Regions from separate parts of the Homo sapiens genome. Here regions 1 and 3 are each linked to region 2. The links are contacts of gene promoters, found by promoter capture Hi-C in human tissues and cell types (Jung and others, 2019). All regions are on one chromosome and are shown on one strand. The core of a region is centred on a gene start or on the middle of the fragment in contact, and the rest is flanking DNA. Distances in the headings are between cores, read along the strand shown. Region 1 overlaps AXIN1 (axin 1). Region 2 holds the start of NPRL3 (NPR3 like, GATOR1 complex subunit). Region 3 overlaps AXIN1 (axin 1).

Region 1 (4,978 bases), core at 1,124-3,623, 200 kb after region 2:
CAGACAACTCTGTACACATTTTGGGCCCTTTCTTTTTCTTCTTCTTCTTCTTCTTTTTTTTTTTAACCATTTCTTCTCTTAACCTTTTAGGCCATTACCAGAAACACAGTCAATAAACTAATGAGCAGGTCCGACGGTTCCTCACGCACCCCTGCGGGAACCTGAACGGCAAGGGCTGGCTGCCCACCTCGAAAGGACCCACCGGTCCTCTGAGCAGCTCCAGGAACCAGCAGCCCAAGACAAGCCACCATGTTGCTCCTGCTGTGGACATGTCTGTTGTCCACTCTCTGGCCACAGCCACATTGACCAGCCCTATCCACAAGTGCATCACTGGACTGGCCCGGGAAGACACACGAAAATATCCAGGAAGACCCTGTCCCCAGTCATCAAGGAAGGTCAGGGCAGTCAACAGAAGGGGCCAGCGGCGAGGAGACTGCGGGCTTGACCAAGCGGACCTGGCAGGGGCATGCAAGGCCAGCCCTGAAGGCCACCTGGTGGGCCAAGCCACCCTGAAGGGAAGCAGAGCCTGAGCCCGCCAGCCAGGGAGTGCAGGCCCTGGGCCTCCCGCCCAACACTCAGTCAACAGCAGAACCTGCCTGCTGATCCACACCGCTGAAATGACGAGGTGAACCAGCCAGCTCTGTTCAAAGTTCCACTGACAATGGGAACAAAGACCCGAGGGTGCAGAAAGTGTTCCCACAGAGGCAGAGCGGGGGAGCCAGGGAGGAACCCCATGAAACCTTGGCCCAGGAGCTCAAAATGACAGTGGGTGAGTGGGACAAACACAGAAAAGGGCCAGGAATGGAGCTCTTTCCTAGGCTGAGACAAAGACCTAAGCAGAACACTTCACTTTCCTCAAATCAAGTATGTGAAACCACCACGCGGCTCACACACGGACCAACAAGGACCCGCACTCAGGCGTCCCACAGGGGAACTGGATGCCTGTGGCCGTGCTGGACCGCAGCAGCCCCACCGCAGGGGATGAGCGACTGTGGCAGAGATGCAGGCAAAGTAGCCTCCAGGACAGAGGGGTCAGCACCCGAGGGCTGGCCCTCCTGGCACGTTCCTCCACGCAAATTCCACCCCGGTGAGAGGTGACAGCGTGCTGGCAGTCCTCACAGCCCTCGCTCGCTCTCAGCGCCTCCTCTGCCTGGGCTCTCACTTTGGTGGCACTTGAGGAGCCCTTCAGCCCACCACTGCACTGTGGGAGCCCCTTTCTGGGCTGGCCAAGGCCGGAGCCGGCTCCCTCAGCTTGCGGGGAGGTGTGGAGGGAGAGGCGCGAGCGGGAACCGCGGCTGCATGCGCTTGCAGGCCAGCTGGAGTCCCGGGTGGGCGTGGGCTTGGTGGGCCCGGCACTCAGAGCAGCCGGCCAGCCCTGCCGGCCGCGGGCAATGAGGGGCTTAGCACCCGGGCCAGCGGCTGCGGAGGGTGTGCTGGGTCCCCCGGCAGTGCCGGCCCACCGGAGCTGCGCTCAATTTCTCGCTGGGTCTTAACTGCCTTCCTGCAGGGCAGGGCTCGGGAGCTGCAGCCCGCCATGCCTAAGCCCCCCACCCCCTCCGTGGGCTCCTGTGCGGACCGAGTCTCCCCGACGAGCGCCCGGTCCCATTGACCACCCAAGGGCTGAGGAGTGCGGGCGCACGGCACGGGACTGGCAGGCAGCTCCACCTGCAACCCCGGTGCGGGATCCACTGGGTGAAGCCAGCTGGGCTCCTGATTCTGGTGGGGACGTGGAGAACCTTTATGTCTAGCTCAGGGACTGTAAATACACCAATCGGCACTCTGTATCTAGCACAAGGTTTGTAAACACACCAATCAGCACTCTGTGTCTAGCTCAGGGTTTGTGAATGCACCAATCGACACTCTGTATCTAGCTACTCTGGTGGGGACTTGGAGAACCTTTGTGTGGACACTCTGTATCTAGCTAATCTGGTGAGGATGTGGAGAAGCTTTGTGTCTAGCTCAGGGATTGTAAACGCACCAATCAGCGCCCTGTCAAAACAGACCACTGGACTCTACCAATCAGCAGGATGTGGGTGGGGCCAGATAAGAGAATAAAAGCTGGCTGCGGGAGCCAGCAGTGGTAACTCGCTCGGGTCCCCTTCCATAGTGTGGAAGCTTTGTTCTTTCTCTCTTTCCAGTAAGTCTTGCTGCTGCTCACTCTTTGGGTCCACACTGCCTTTATGAGCTGTAACACTCACCGCGAAGATCTGCAGCTTCACTCCTGAAGCCAGTGAGACCACGAACCCACCAGAAGGAAGAAACTCCGAACACCTCCGAACGTCAGAAGGAACAAACTCCGGACAGGCCGCCTTTAGGAACTGTAACACTCACGGCAAGGGTCCGCGGCTTCATTCTTGAAGTCAGTGAGACCAAGAACCCACCAATTCCGGACACACCGGGACGACTAACCGGCTCTCCACAGGATATGCATCCCCTAACACGTGAGGCCTAAGCTCCAGGCCCTGCTGTGGTAGCAATGCTCACCAGCCGCCTGTTCAGTACCCACTCTCCTTTTCCCTTTGCATTACCCGCAGCCTTCCTTTGGAGGACTGCCCCCAGCTCCCCACTGGGGAGCAGCCGTCTGTCTGGGTGGAGAACCCACTTTCCTTCAGGAGTGACCCTGCTGCACAGCCCCCAGCGCACGCACCGTGACTGTGCTGAGACAGACGGGACACAGCGGCACACGTGCCCTCCTCAGAGCAACAGCGGGCCCATCCGTCAGAGCTGCGGGAAGCATCTGTAAACAAGGGAGCCCAGAGCCCAAGGTCACTGCAGCAGCCACCTCCAACACAAAGCCCACGAAGTCGCCCACCAGGCAGGCAAAGTCAGAATGGCACAAAGCAAAGGTGCCAGGCCCTAAGGCACACCTGAGGCTCTGCCTCAACAGTGCCCTTCAGGGTTGGGCTCAGGTGGGTGGGTTTCCACGACTTCCAACCTAGTGCACCCTCACCTACACCTGGCAGGACAAAGAGAATGGTCTAAATGTGAGGAACGCAGCCTGGACTTCATGCCCTGTCTGTGCTGACAAGCAACCATTCCAACATCAGAGATCTTCAAGCCACAAGGCTGCACCACAGGCCACCTCCCACAGAGAGGATTCAACCGCAGACACGACTCCCAAGCCCCAGGGTCCTCTGCCACCAGCAGCCCCAGAGCAGTCAAGTTAGGACCCAAACTGTGTAGACAGAGCTACACAAAATTAGACAGGAGAAGCCAATGTATCCCACTAATTTCATAGCAAAGGTTCCTTATTACAAATACAGCAAACCAAGGACAGACAGCAAAGCTACTGCTCGCAGCCAAGAACTGAAGAGTGGCTGGGAGGGAGGCACTGGGGTTCCAACAGTGGAAATCAGAACGGAGCTCATTTTCCTCCTGCAGCCCAGCCCTCAACTTCAGTCCCATCTTAAAAATAACCAGCCGGGGCCGGGCGCAGTGGCTCACACCTGGAATCCCAGCACTTTGGGAGGCTGAGGCGGGCAGATCTCTTGAGGAAAGGAGTTCGAGACCAGACTGGCCAACGTGGTAAAACCCCATCTCTACTAAAAATACAGAAAATTAGCTGGGCATGGTAGCTCACACTTGTAATCCCAGCTACTCGGGAGGCTGAGGCAGGAGACTCACTTGAACCCAGGAGGCAGAGGTTGCAGTGAGCTGAGATTGCACTACTGCACTCCAGCCTGGGCGACAGAGCGAGACTCCATCTCAAACAAAAAAACAAGCAAAAAAAATAACCAGCCAGGTGCAGTGGCTCCCACCCGTAATCCCAGCACTTTGGGAGGCTGAGATCACTGGAGTCCAGGAGCTCGAGACCATCCTGGCCAACGTGGCGAAACGCTGTCTCTACCACAAATACAAAAATTAGCCAGGCATGGTAGCACACACCTGTAATCCCAGCTACTCGGGAGGCAGGAGAATCACTTAAACCCAGGAGGCAGAAGTTGCAGTGAGCCGAGATAGCGAGATAGTGCTACTGCACTCCAGCCTGTGTGACAGAGCGAGACTCCATTTCAAAAAAAAAAAAAAGAAAGAAAGAAAGAAACTCTCAGTTTATACCAGGCTTACTCAACAGGATAACTTTGCGGCATATTGTGTCCTAAAATGCTTGCTAAATAAATACCACTTGGCTAAAGACAATGAACAAAAGGGAAAAAAGGCCGGGCGTGGTGGCCCACGTCTGTAATCCCCGCACTTTGGGAGACTGAGGCAGGCGATCACGAGGTCAGGAGATCGAGACCATCCTGGCTAACATGGTGAAACCCAGTCTCTACTAAAAATACAAAAAATTGGCCGGCATGGTGGCGGGCGCCTGTAGTCCCAGCTACTTGGGAGGCTGGGGCAGGAGAACGGCGTGAACCTGGGAGGCGGAGCTTGCAGTGAGCCGAGATGGCGCCACCGCACTCCAGCCTGGGCGATAGAGCAAGACTCCATCTCAAAAAAAAAAAAAAAATTAACCAATTAACCTACACAATCCTTTTTTGTTTTTTTTTTGTTTTTTTTCTGAGACAGAGTTTCACTCTTGTCCTCTTGTCGCCCAGGCTGGAGTGCAATGGCACAACCAAGGCTCACTGCAACCTCTGCCTCCCAGGTTCAAGCGATTCTCCTGCTTCAGCCTCCCGAGGAGCTGGGATTACAGGCATGCGCCAACTCGCCTATCTAATTTTTGTATTTTTAGTAGAAATGAGGATTCACCACGTTGGCCAGGATGGTCTCGAACTCCCGACCTCAGGTGATTCGCCCGCCTCGGCCTCCCAAAGTGCTGGGATTACAGGTGTGAGTCACTGCGCCCAGTCGACAGTCCATCTTAAATCGTATCACTTAGACTACAAGTTTAACCTTAGACATGTTTAATCCTGTGTTGATGAGCGAGTAGCCAATTTCTGTGTCACAGTAAGCTTGAAGAACTAATGCGAGTTTTTAATAACTCCTCAGGAGAGTCCCAGCACATGGGGCTGTGCTTTCGGAGTCTTGATTAGGT
Region 2 (4,472 bases), core at 159-2,658:
GAAAAATCAAAAGTAACCTACATGCCGTCCACAGGGGAAGGCAGCAGCCTGCAGCCAAGGGTGAGGTTGATCCCTGCTTGCAAAGGCAGACGGAGCTCCAAGGCCGACTATGGGAAAAGGGCGCCACAGAACAATTCGTGCGATGAAAAACCTCACGCGACGTTCCCTTTTCCTGTGGATAGATCTGCATCTATGCACAGGGCAGACAACTCCCAACACGGCCAGGGGTGATCCCTGTGCTTGCTAGAACTGGGGGTGGCAAAGACAACTTCAGATGTTCACGTAACTTTTTTTTTTTTTTTTGAGACGGAGTCTTGCTCTGTTGCCCAGGCTGGAATCCAGTGGCGCGATCTCGGTTCACTGAAACCTCCGCCTCCCGGGTTCAAGCAATTCTCCTGCCTCAGCCTCCCAAGTAGCTAGGATTATGGGCACGCACCACCACGCTCGGCTAATTTGTTTTTTTTTATTTTTATTTTTTCAGTAGAGACAGAGTTTCAACCATGTTGGCCAGGCTGGTCTCGAACTCCTGACCTCAGGTGATCCACCCGCCTCGGCCTCCCAAAGTGCTGGGATTACCGCCACCGGCCTTGTTCGTGTAATTTTGTATTTTCTCATGATGAATACATCCCAAACTCATTTTATTTTATTTTACTTTATTTTTTAAAGGCTGGAGACTGATGAAATGTCAGCAGTAGTTGCTTTGGTGTGGTGAACAATGCATGATTTTAATTTTTTTTTTCCTTTTTCTACTTTTCAAATACTCTACAACGAGCAGATCTCGAATGCCCAGCAAAAGCTAAGCTCCGCGAGGCGGCCCTGGAATGAGGCGACCCCGGAATGAGGCGGCCCCCGCGAGCGCCAGGCCCCCGCCCAGCGCTCACTTACTTGTCTGGGACGCCGGGTGCTCCTGGCTTCTCTGGAAGGGGTACCTGAACAGCAGCTTATTGCCCCTGCTCCCCGAGCTCACCAGAATCACGCTGATGGGGCTGGTGTTGTCCCGCATCCCGCCGTGGGGCCGGGGCCGGGGGCGGAGGGGGCCAGAGGAGGACGGAGCCGGAGGCGGAGGGGGCCTGAGGAGGACGGAGCCGGAGGCGGAGGGGGCCTGAGGAGGACGAGGCGGGGACGCAGGGGGCCTGAGGAGGGCAGGGGTGGAGGCGGAGGGGGCCTGAGGAGGGCAGGGGTGGAGGCGGAGGGGGCCTGAGGAGGGCAGGGGTGGAGGCGGAGGGGGCCTGAGGAGGGCAGGGGTGGAGGCGGAGGGGGCCTGAGTAGGGCAGGGGTGGAGGCGGAGGGGGCCTGAGGAGGGCAGGGGTGGAGGCGGAGGGGGCCTGAGGAGGACAGGGGTGGTGGTGGACGCGGAGCAGCGCCACAGTTACCAACCCACGTGCCACGCTCCGGGCTCGCGAGACTTCGGCGACACCGTCCGGAGGAGGTGCTAAGGCGGCGGCCGGGAGAACGGCGCAGGCGCAGGCGCAGGCGCAGGCAGCGGAATGCGCAGGCGCGGGGCCTTCTGGAAGCCACCGAGTTCCGCGGTGCTGTCTGGAGCCGTACGGTTCGCGTTTGGGGCACAGGGGCCCCTCTTGCTGGTGCGGATGGGAAAGGCGCGGGGTCGAGTCAGCGTCCCTCTCGATGTTGGTTTCTTCGTTTTACAAATAACACTTGGGCGGGGCGCGGTGGCTCACGCCTGTAATCCCAGCATTTTGGGAGGCCGAGGCGGGCGGATCACGAGGTCAGGAGATCGAGACCATCCTAGCTAACATAGTGAAACCCCATCTCTACTAAAAATTAGAAGAAATTATCCGGGCGTGGTGGCAGGCGCCCGTAATCCTAGAGGAGAATCGCTTGAACCCGGGAGGCGGAGGTTGCATTGAGCCAAGATCACGCCATTGCACTCCACCCTGGGCGACAGAGCGACGAGACCCCGTATCAAAAAAAAAAAAAAGAAAGAAAGAAAGAAAAAAGAAAAAAAAAAGGCCGGGCGCGGTGGCTCACGCCTGTAATCCCAGCACTTTGGGAGGCCGAGGCGGGTGAATCACGAGGTCAGGAGTTCGAGACCATCCTGGCCAACATGGTGAAACCCCGTCTCTACAAAAAAAAAAAAAAAAATTAGCCGGGCGTGGTGGCGGGCGCCTGTAATCCCAGCTACTCGGGAGGCTGAGACAGGAAAATCGCTTGAACCCGGGAGGCGGAGCTTGCGGTGAGCCGAGATTGCGCCACTGCACTACAGCCTAGGCGACAGAGCGAGACTCCGTCTCAAAAAAAAAAAAAAAAAAAAAAAACACTTGGAAGCCGACAGGAGATCTTTGAGACCTTGGGCGAGGCAGTGACACTAAAGGCAGGAGCGACTACAGAAGAATAAATTAAACTTCATCAGATTAAAAACTTTACTGCGGCCGGGCGCGGTGGCTCACGCCTGAAATCCCAGCACTTTGGGAGGCCGAGGTGGGCAGATCATGAGATCAGGAGATCTAGACCATCCTGGCCAACATGGTAAAACCCCGTCTCTCTACTAAAAATACAAAAATTAGCTGGGTTTGGCGGCGCCTGCTTCTAATCCCAGCTACTCGGGAGGCTGAGGCAGGAGAATCGCTTGAAGCCGGGAGGCGGAGGTTGCAGTGAGCCGAGATCGTGCCACTGAACTCTGGCCTGGCGACAGAGCGAGACTCCATCTCAAAACAAAACAAAAACTTCGGTGCTTTAAAGGACACCATCAAGAAAATTAAAAGTCCACCCACAGAACGGGAGAAAATATTTGTAAGTTACATATCTGATAAGGGAATTGTATCTAGAATGGAGGAAACTTACAACTCAACAATAAAAAGACAATTGAAAAATGCACAAAGGATATGAATATTTTTCCAGTGCATTATGCAAATGGCCAATAAGCACCAGAAGATGCTCAGCTCAACTGGTAGAGGCTTACGCCTGTGACCCCAGCGCTGAGAGGCCAGGAACTCCAGACCAGCCTGGGCAAAACAGAAATTAAAAATGCTCAACATTATTAGGCATTAGGGAGATGCAAATCAAAACTACAAATAGATGCCACATCACACCTCCTACGATGGCTGTAATCAAAAAGACAAGCGTCAGCAGGGGTGTGGAGAAACGGGAATCTCTCTCCTGCTGGTGGGAATGTAAGAGGCTACACTCGCTATGGAAAACAGGCTGGCAGTTCCTGAAAGGTTAGAGTTAACACAACACTCGGCAAATCCCCCTTTTAGATATATAGCCAAGAGAAATGAAAGCATATGTCCACACAAAAACATGTGTGTTCTTAGTAATATTATTCATAATAGCCCAAAGTGGAAGCAATCCTAGGGTATATCAATTGATGAATGGGTGAATATGGTATAGTTTGTTTAAGGGAATACTATTCAGCCATAAAAAGGAATGAAGTACGGCACATGAATCCATCTTGAAGACACACTAATATATGATTCCATTTATATAAGATGCCCAGAATAGGCAAATCCATAGAGACAGAATGATTAGTGGCTGCCTAGGGCTTCCAGGGGGTCAGGGGAAATATGGAGCGATTCATGGGTTTTTTGAAGGGGAGTGATGAAAATGTTCTAACGTTGACTGTGGTAATGGTTGGACAGCTCTGAGAACGCGAATACACTAAAAGACATGGAAGTGCCGGGCGCAGTGGCTCATGCCTGTAATCCCAGCGCTTTGGGAGGCCAAGGCAGGCGGATCGCGAGGTCAGGAGATCGAGACCATCCTGGCTAAGACAGTGAAACCCCGTGTCTACTAAAAATACAAAAAATTAGCTGGACATGGTGCGGGCGCCTGTAGTCCCAGATACTCAGGAGGCTGAGGCAGGAGAATGGTGTGAACCCGGGAGGCGGAGCTTGCAGTGAGCCAAGATCGCACCATTGCACTCCAGCCTGGGCGACAGAGCGAGACTCCATCTCAAAAACAAAAAAAAGATATGGAAGTGTACACTTGAAGTGGATAAGCTTTATGGTATGCAAATTGGTATGGTATGGTAAATTATATCTCAATGAAGTTGTTTTTTAAAAAATCACCCCACCTACCCTATCCCAGGCTTCCCCAGGAGGTAACTAAAGGTAATGAGCTTCTTTGGCTGCTTCCAGAACTTTCCCAAGCACATCAAATGCATCAGAACCTAACCACTTGACTGAGGGATGAGCATTTTCACTGTTGCAAGTAACCCTCTTGCACCAACACTGACACTAATGTGTATTTTGCAGAACAAATTTGTGGATTGGCCTCACCAGGGTGAAGGGTACGTGCATTTGAAATGGCTCAACAGTACCAACAGGTGCGTTTTCTTGCACAGGGCTGCATAACATTTTTTTTTTTTTTTTGAGACAGAGTCTCGCTCTATCACCCAGGCTGGAGGGCAGTGGCACAATCTCAGTTCACTGCAAGCTCCACCTACCAGGTTCACATCATTCTCCTGCCTCAGCCTCCCAAGTAGCTGGGACTACAGGTGCCCGCCACCACAC
Region 3 (4,953 bases), core at 1-2,500, 160 kb after region 2:
GGGTTGGGAGCTGGGTGGGGTGGCATGGTGGGGTCTTGGATGAAGAGGTGGGAGGGCTGCACGGAGGTCCGGAGCTGAGGGCCGGCCCAGGGGTGCTCAAGGGACAAGGGTCTGGAGTTCTCATGGGGCTGTGGCTTCCTCGTCCCCGAAGACCTTGGGGAACAAGAGAACAAGTTGTGACTGTGGCCGACACCCTGGCCAGGTGGCCTGGTGGGGCTACACTCATCTCACAAGGGCAGCCTCCTTGAGGGATAGGATGGGATGGGGCACTGGGGCCTGGCCACCAAGCCACATGGACGTCCTCCACAGACCACACAATAAAAACATCCCGGCCAGGCATGGTGGCTCACACCTGTAATCCCAGCATTTCGGGAGGCCGAGGCGGGCAGATCACCAGAGGTCGGGAGTTCGAGATCAACCTAACATGGTGAAACCTCATCGCTACTAAATATACAAAATTAGCTGGGCGCCTGTCATCCCTGCTACTCTGGAGGCTGGGGCCCGAGAATGGCTGGAACTGGGGAAGTGGAGGTTACAGTGAGCCGGGATCACGCCACCGCACTCCAGCCTGGGTGACAGAGTGAGGCTCAGTCTCAGGAATAAAAAAGACAACAAAAAACCAACCCTCATTTGCCTGTAATCCCAATACTCTGGGAGGCCAAGGTGGGTGGATCGCCTGAGGTCAGGAGTTCAAGAACAGCCTGGCCAACATGGCAAAACCATGACTCTACTCAAAAAATACAAAAAATTACCCAAGTGTGGTGGTGGATACCAGTAATTCTAGTTACTCGGGAGGCTGAGGCAGGAGAATCGCTTGAACCTGGGAGGCAGAGGTTGCGGTGAGCTGAGATTGCACCACTGCACTCCAGCCTAGGCAAGAGTGAGACTCCATCTCAAAAAAAAAAAAAAAAAAAAAAAATGGCCAGGCGCGGTAATCCCAGCACGCTGGGAGGCCGAGGCGGGTGGATCATCTGAGGTCAGGAGTTCAAGACCAGCCTGGCCAACATGGTGAAACCCTGTTTCTACAAAAATACAAAAAGTTAACTGGGCATAATAGTGGGTGCCTGTAATCCCAGCTACTCAGGTGGGTTAGACAGGAGAACCACTTGAACCTGGGAGGTGGAGGTTGCAGTGCGTTGACACTGGCCTGTTGCACTCCAGCCTGAGCCACAGGAGCGAAACCCCATCTCAAAAAAAAAAAAAAAAAAAAAAAAAGGCCAGGCGCGGTGGCTCACGCCTGTAATCCCAGCACTTTGGGAGGCTGAGGAGGGCGGATCACGAGGTCAAGAGATCGAGACCGTCCTGGCTAACACGGTGAAACCCCACCTCTACTAAAAAAATACAAAAAATTAGCCGGGCGTGGTGGCGGGCGCCTGCAGTCCCAGCTGCTCTTGAGGCTGAGGCAGGAGAATGGCATGAACCCGGGAGGCGAGGCTTGCAGTGAGCTGAGATCAGGCCACTGCACTCCAGCCTGGGCAACAGAGCAAGACTCCGTCTCAAAAAAAAAAAAAAAAAATTCTTTCATGGAGACTTTTTTTTTTTCTTTTTTTGAGACAGAGTTTTGCTCTTGTTGCCCAGGCTGCAGTGCAATGGCTCGACCTCGGATCTCGGCTCACTGCAATCTCCGCCTCCCAGGTTCAAGCGACTCTCCTGCCTCAGCCACCGAGTAGCTGGGATTACTGGCACTCGCCACCACACACGGCTAATTTTTTGTATTTTTTTTAGTAGAGATGGAGTTTTTGTCATGTTGGCCAGTCTGGTCTCGAACTCCGGACCTCAAGCGATCCACCTGCCTCGGCCTCCCAAAGTGCTGGGATGAGGCTTCTTTTTTTACATTTTATTTTTAACAGCTTTACTGGGATACAAATTATATACTAATCCTAGAGGCCGGCGGATAGCTTTGAGTCCAGGAGGCTGAGACTGCAGTGAACGGTGTGATTACACCACTGCACTTCAGCCAGGGTGACAGAGGGAGACTCTGTCGCAAAAAATTAAAAAAAAAGTCTTAATGAATAAAAAGTATAAGTATGTCTCAAAGTGGAATGTATTAATACTTATCCTAAAATATGGGACATGCAATATTTAGTATATACAGCTATTTAAAAAAAGGATTCGGCCGGGCACGGTGGCTCACGCCTGTAATCCTAGCACTCCAGGAGGCCGAGGCAGGCGGATCACCAAAGGTTGGGAGTTCGAGATCAGCCTAACATGGCAACCACCCCCTGCCCCGGTCTCTACTAAAAATACAAAAATCAGCCGGGCGTGGTGGCTCACGCCTGTAATCCCAGCTACTCGGGAGGCTGAGGCAGGAGAATTGCTTGAACCCAGGAGGTGGAGGTTGCAGTTAGCCAAGATTGCACCACTGCACTCCAGCCCGGGCGACAGAGCTAGACTCCGTCTCAAAAAAAAAGACTCGAAGGCCAGGAATGGTGGCTCATGCCTGTAGTCCCAGCATTTTGGGAGGCCAAGGTGGGAGGATCACTTGAGCCCAAAAGCTTGAGACCCAGCTGGGCAACACACTGAGACCCCCTCTACAAAAAATGAGCCAGGCAAGGTGCTGTGCACCCCTGTTCCCTCGGGAGCCCCAGAAAAACGATGAGCCCGTCCCCACCTCAGTCAGCACCGATGGGGACCCCAAGGCCTTGCGGGACAGGCTTCCAACACAGGCAGGAGGGCCACGCCCCAGGCGCTCAGCTGCCTCACAAGTTCTCATCAAGTAATGTGGAGGGAGATGCGTCCTGGCCAGGGCCTGGGTGAGGGTGGGGGGCAGATCAGGACCTAAGTCTGAGGAAGCTGGGGCCATCCACCCACCAGGGCCAACACTTCCCAGCTGACCTGCCTCTGACCACGACAGGAAGGTGGGGGGTACCACCTCTGTGGGGCCCCTGGCCCTCCTGCTGGGTTCCGGGCACGAGTGCAGGCCCAGGGGGCGAGCAGGAGCAACACCAAGACCGGCCCGGCGGGCAGCGGCAGGGGCTGGACCTGTGGCGCCGGGGCCTTGCTCCACACCACACACGAGGCCTCTGCCCTTCTGGGAGGAGAGAAGTGCTCACGCTACACAAGAGCCTTCCCCAGCCCTCAGCAGGACGGCCAGGTGTGAGCACAGAAGGCTCCTCCGTGGGCACCTCGGGAGTGATGGTCAGTGGGGGCCTTCCCAGGTGACTTAGGTCATTCTCATGTGGGGGTCAGACTGGAAATGACCTCCCGAGAGCATCTGTGCTGCCTGCGGGGTGACAGCCACGTCAGCTTCCCTCCTGCTCGGGGCTTCAGGGACAGCCTCTCTCTGGGGACATGAGGTTTTCCTCCTGGAGACGTGGGGCCCAGGGAGCCTGCTGGAGGGTGCCCGGGAGGGTGCCACAGTGACAGGGGAAGTGTGAGGCGTCACAGGCGACACTCGCCACACACACTGAAGCTGCACACACTGAGACTGTGCGGAGGCCAGGGGTGGCAAAGCAGGCCCCACGAGGCTGGCTGCGTGCGGGGTGCTCACCCGTGGCCGGTCCTGCGGTGCCTGCTGATCTCCTTTTCCCCCTCAATGATCCACTGCATGATTTTCTGGTTCTTCTCCGCATCCTCCGAGGCACCTGGCACCTCGGTGCTGGCGCTCTTCCCCGACTCAGCCTTCTTGGCATTTCTTTTGCACGCCACGCCCACCTTCCCACTGCAAGGGCAAGAGCTGCGAGTCGCCCTGGCCTCCGGTGGCCGAGGCTGTGCCCCTTCCTCGTCTGCGAGGCCCCCTCCTGGCATCTGTAAGGCTCCCGTGGTGCAGCCGCCGCCCGCTGTCCCCTGCCCGCTTGTCCCCCACCCGCTGTCCCCCGCCAGCTTGTCCCCCACCCGCTGTCCCCTGCCCGCTGTCCTGGTGCTGTCTGGGGGTTGGTTTCCTCTCTAAACACACAGGCAGTCACTGCTCACCCCCTGAAGACTGAGGGCCAGAGCGGGAGCCAGGGTCGGGCTGTGTCCCCTAACCTTCATCTCCCACCTGAGGTCACGGCGTGGACTCCCCTGACCCAGGGCCCAGTCCACTCCCTCCAGCAGAGGGGCCTCCTGCCTGTTGCTGGCGGTCCTGGGTTTCCTGAGTTTTATGAGGAGGTTCTGGCCTTCTGCAGGGACACAGCCTCACCCCAAGCCCCCTCCTCACTGACAGGCGCACGCTCACCTGTGGGCGAGGCCATCACTGGCGTTGGGGGCAGCGCCAACACTCTCTGAGTAGCCTCGGGACCTTGCCCCATGGCTGTGTGGTTCCAGGCCCCAGGCGAAGCTGCTCTGGGCCCTGCGGGTGGCCTCGGCCTCCACCTGCTCCTTGGGCCGGGCTGTGCTGTGGTGGACGTGGTGGTGGACGTGTCGGTGGTGGTGCAGGCCGGCCGCGTCCAGCTTCGCCCCTGACTTGGGTACGTGCTTCCCGTGCCCCGAGGCGGCACCCCCCAGTGCCACTGGCATCTTGGCCACGTGCCCACTGTCCGGGGAGCGATGGCCAGGCCCAGGCGACTGGCGGCCAGGTGTCCTCAGCACACGCTGTACGTGCTCGTCCAGGATGCTCTCAGGGTTCTCCTCGTGTGCATCCCGGAGCCCGGCACAGCCCATGTCCACACAGCGGGGCGGGAAGTGGTGCCAAGCGGGGGCGGGAGGCAGCTTGTGACACGGCCCTGGGGGCCCTGACGATGGATCGCCGTCCTCACCTTCCTCCTCCTGTGTGGGGACAAGCAGCACCATCACCTCTCAGCACCAGCTGCACACTTGGGGAAAACAAAAAGCATCAGGCCTGACCCAGCAGCCCCAGCAGATGCCGTCCCAGCCCAGGGTGGCCGGGGGCCCCTCGCCACCGGTCCTGTCCCTGAGGATGGAGAGGCAGGACGGGGCATAGACAGAAGGAGCGGAGACAGCAAGGCCTCAAGGAATGCAGCGTATGTATCGGCTGTGGGCAGAGCTCTGCACAGATTTAGTTTAGTTTTATTC

The links. The method cuts DNA at HindIII sites, captures the fragments that hold promoters and counts their contacts. A contact is called where the count stands out against the background at its distance.
Region 1: a contact is called between a fragment that was not itself captured here and the fragment with the promoter of NPRL3 in region 2, in 7 of the 25 tissues and cell types used here (IMR-90 fibroblasts, dorsolateral prefrontal cortex, heart right ventricle and 4 more).
Region 3: a contact is called between a fragment that was not itself captured here and the fragment with the promoter of NPRL3 in region 2, in 1 of the 25 tissues and cell types used here (H1 embryonic stem cells).

The regions. Positions count from the first base shown.
Region 1 is chr16:339,996-344,973 of GRCh38, forward strand. The region is part of intron 2 of AXIN1 (axin 1); the gene reads right to left. Among named protein-coding and RNA genes, the nearest start is that of AXIN1, 10 kb to the right of the region's middle. RefSeq lists enhancers at 1-187, 1,470-2,021. The HindIII fragment of the contact is 5,555 bases long and covers 1-4,978 here.
Region 2 is chr16:137,265-141,736 of GRCh38, forward strand. NPRL3 (NPR3 like, GATOR1 complex subunit) reads right to left here and starts at 1,409. Exons shown (of 14, transcript NM_001077350.3): 1 at 1,378-1,409; 2 at 886-1,070. The coding sequence starts at 1,003. RefSeq lists a silencer at 839-1,068 and an enhancer at 1,289-1,338. The HindIII fragment of the contact is 17,392 bases long and covers 1-4,472 here.
Region 3 is chr16:293,566-298,518 of GRCh38, forward strand. It overlaps AXIN1 (axin 1), which reads right to left. Exons shown (of 11, transcript NM_003502.4): 6 at 4,157-4,686; 7 at 3,491-3,661; 8 at 1-153. Among named protein-coding and RNA genes, the nearest start is that of PDIA2, 13 kb to the left of the region's middle. The HindIII fragment of the contact is 5,628 bases long and covers 1-4,064 here.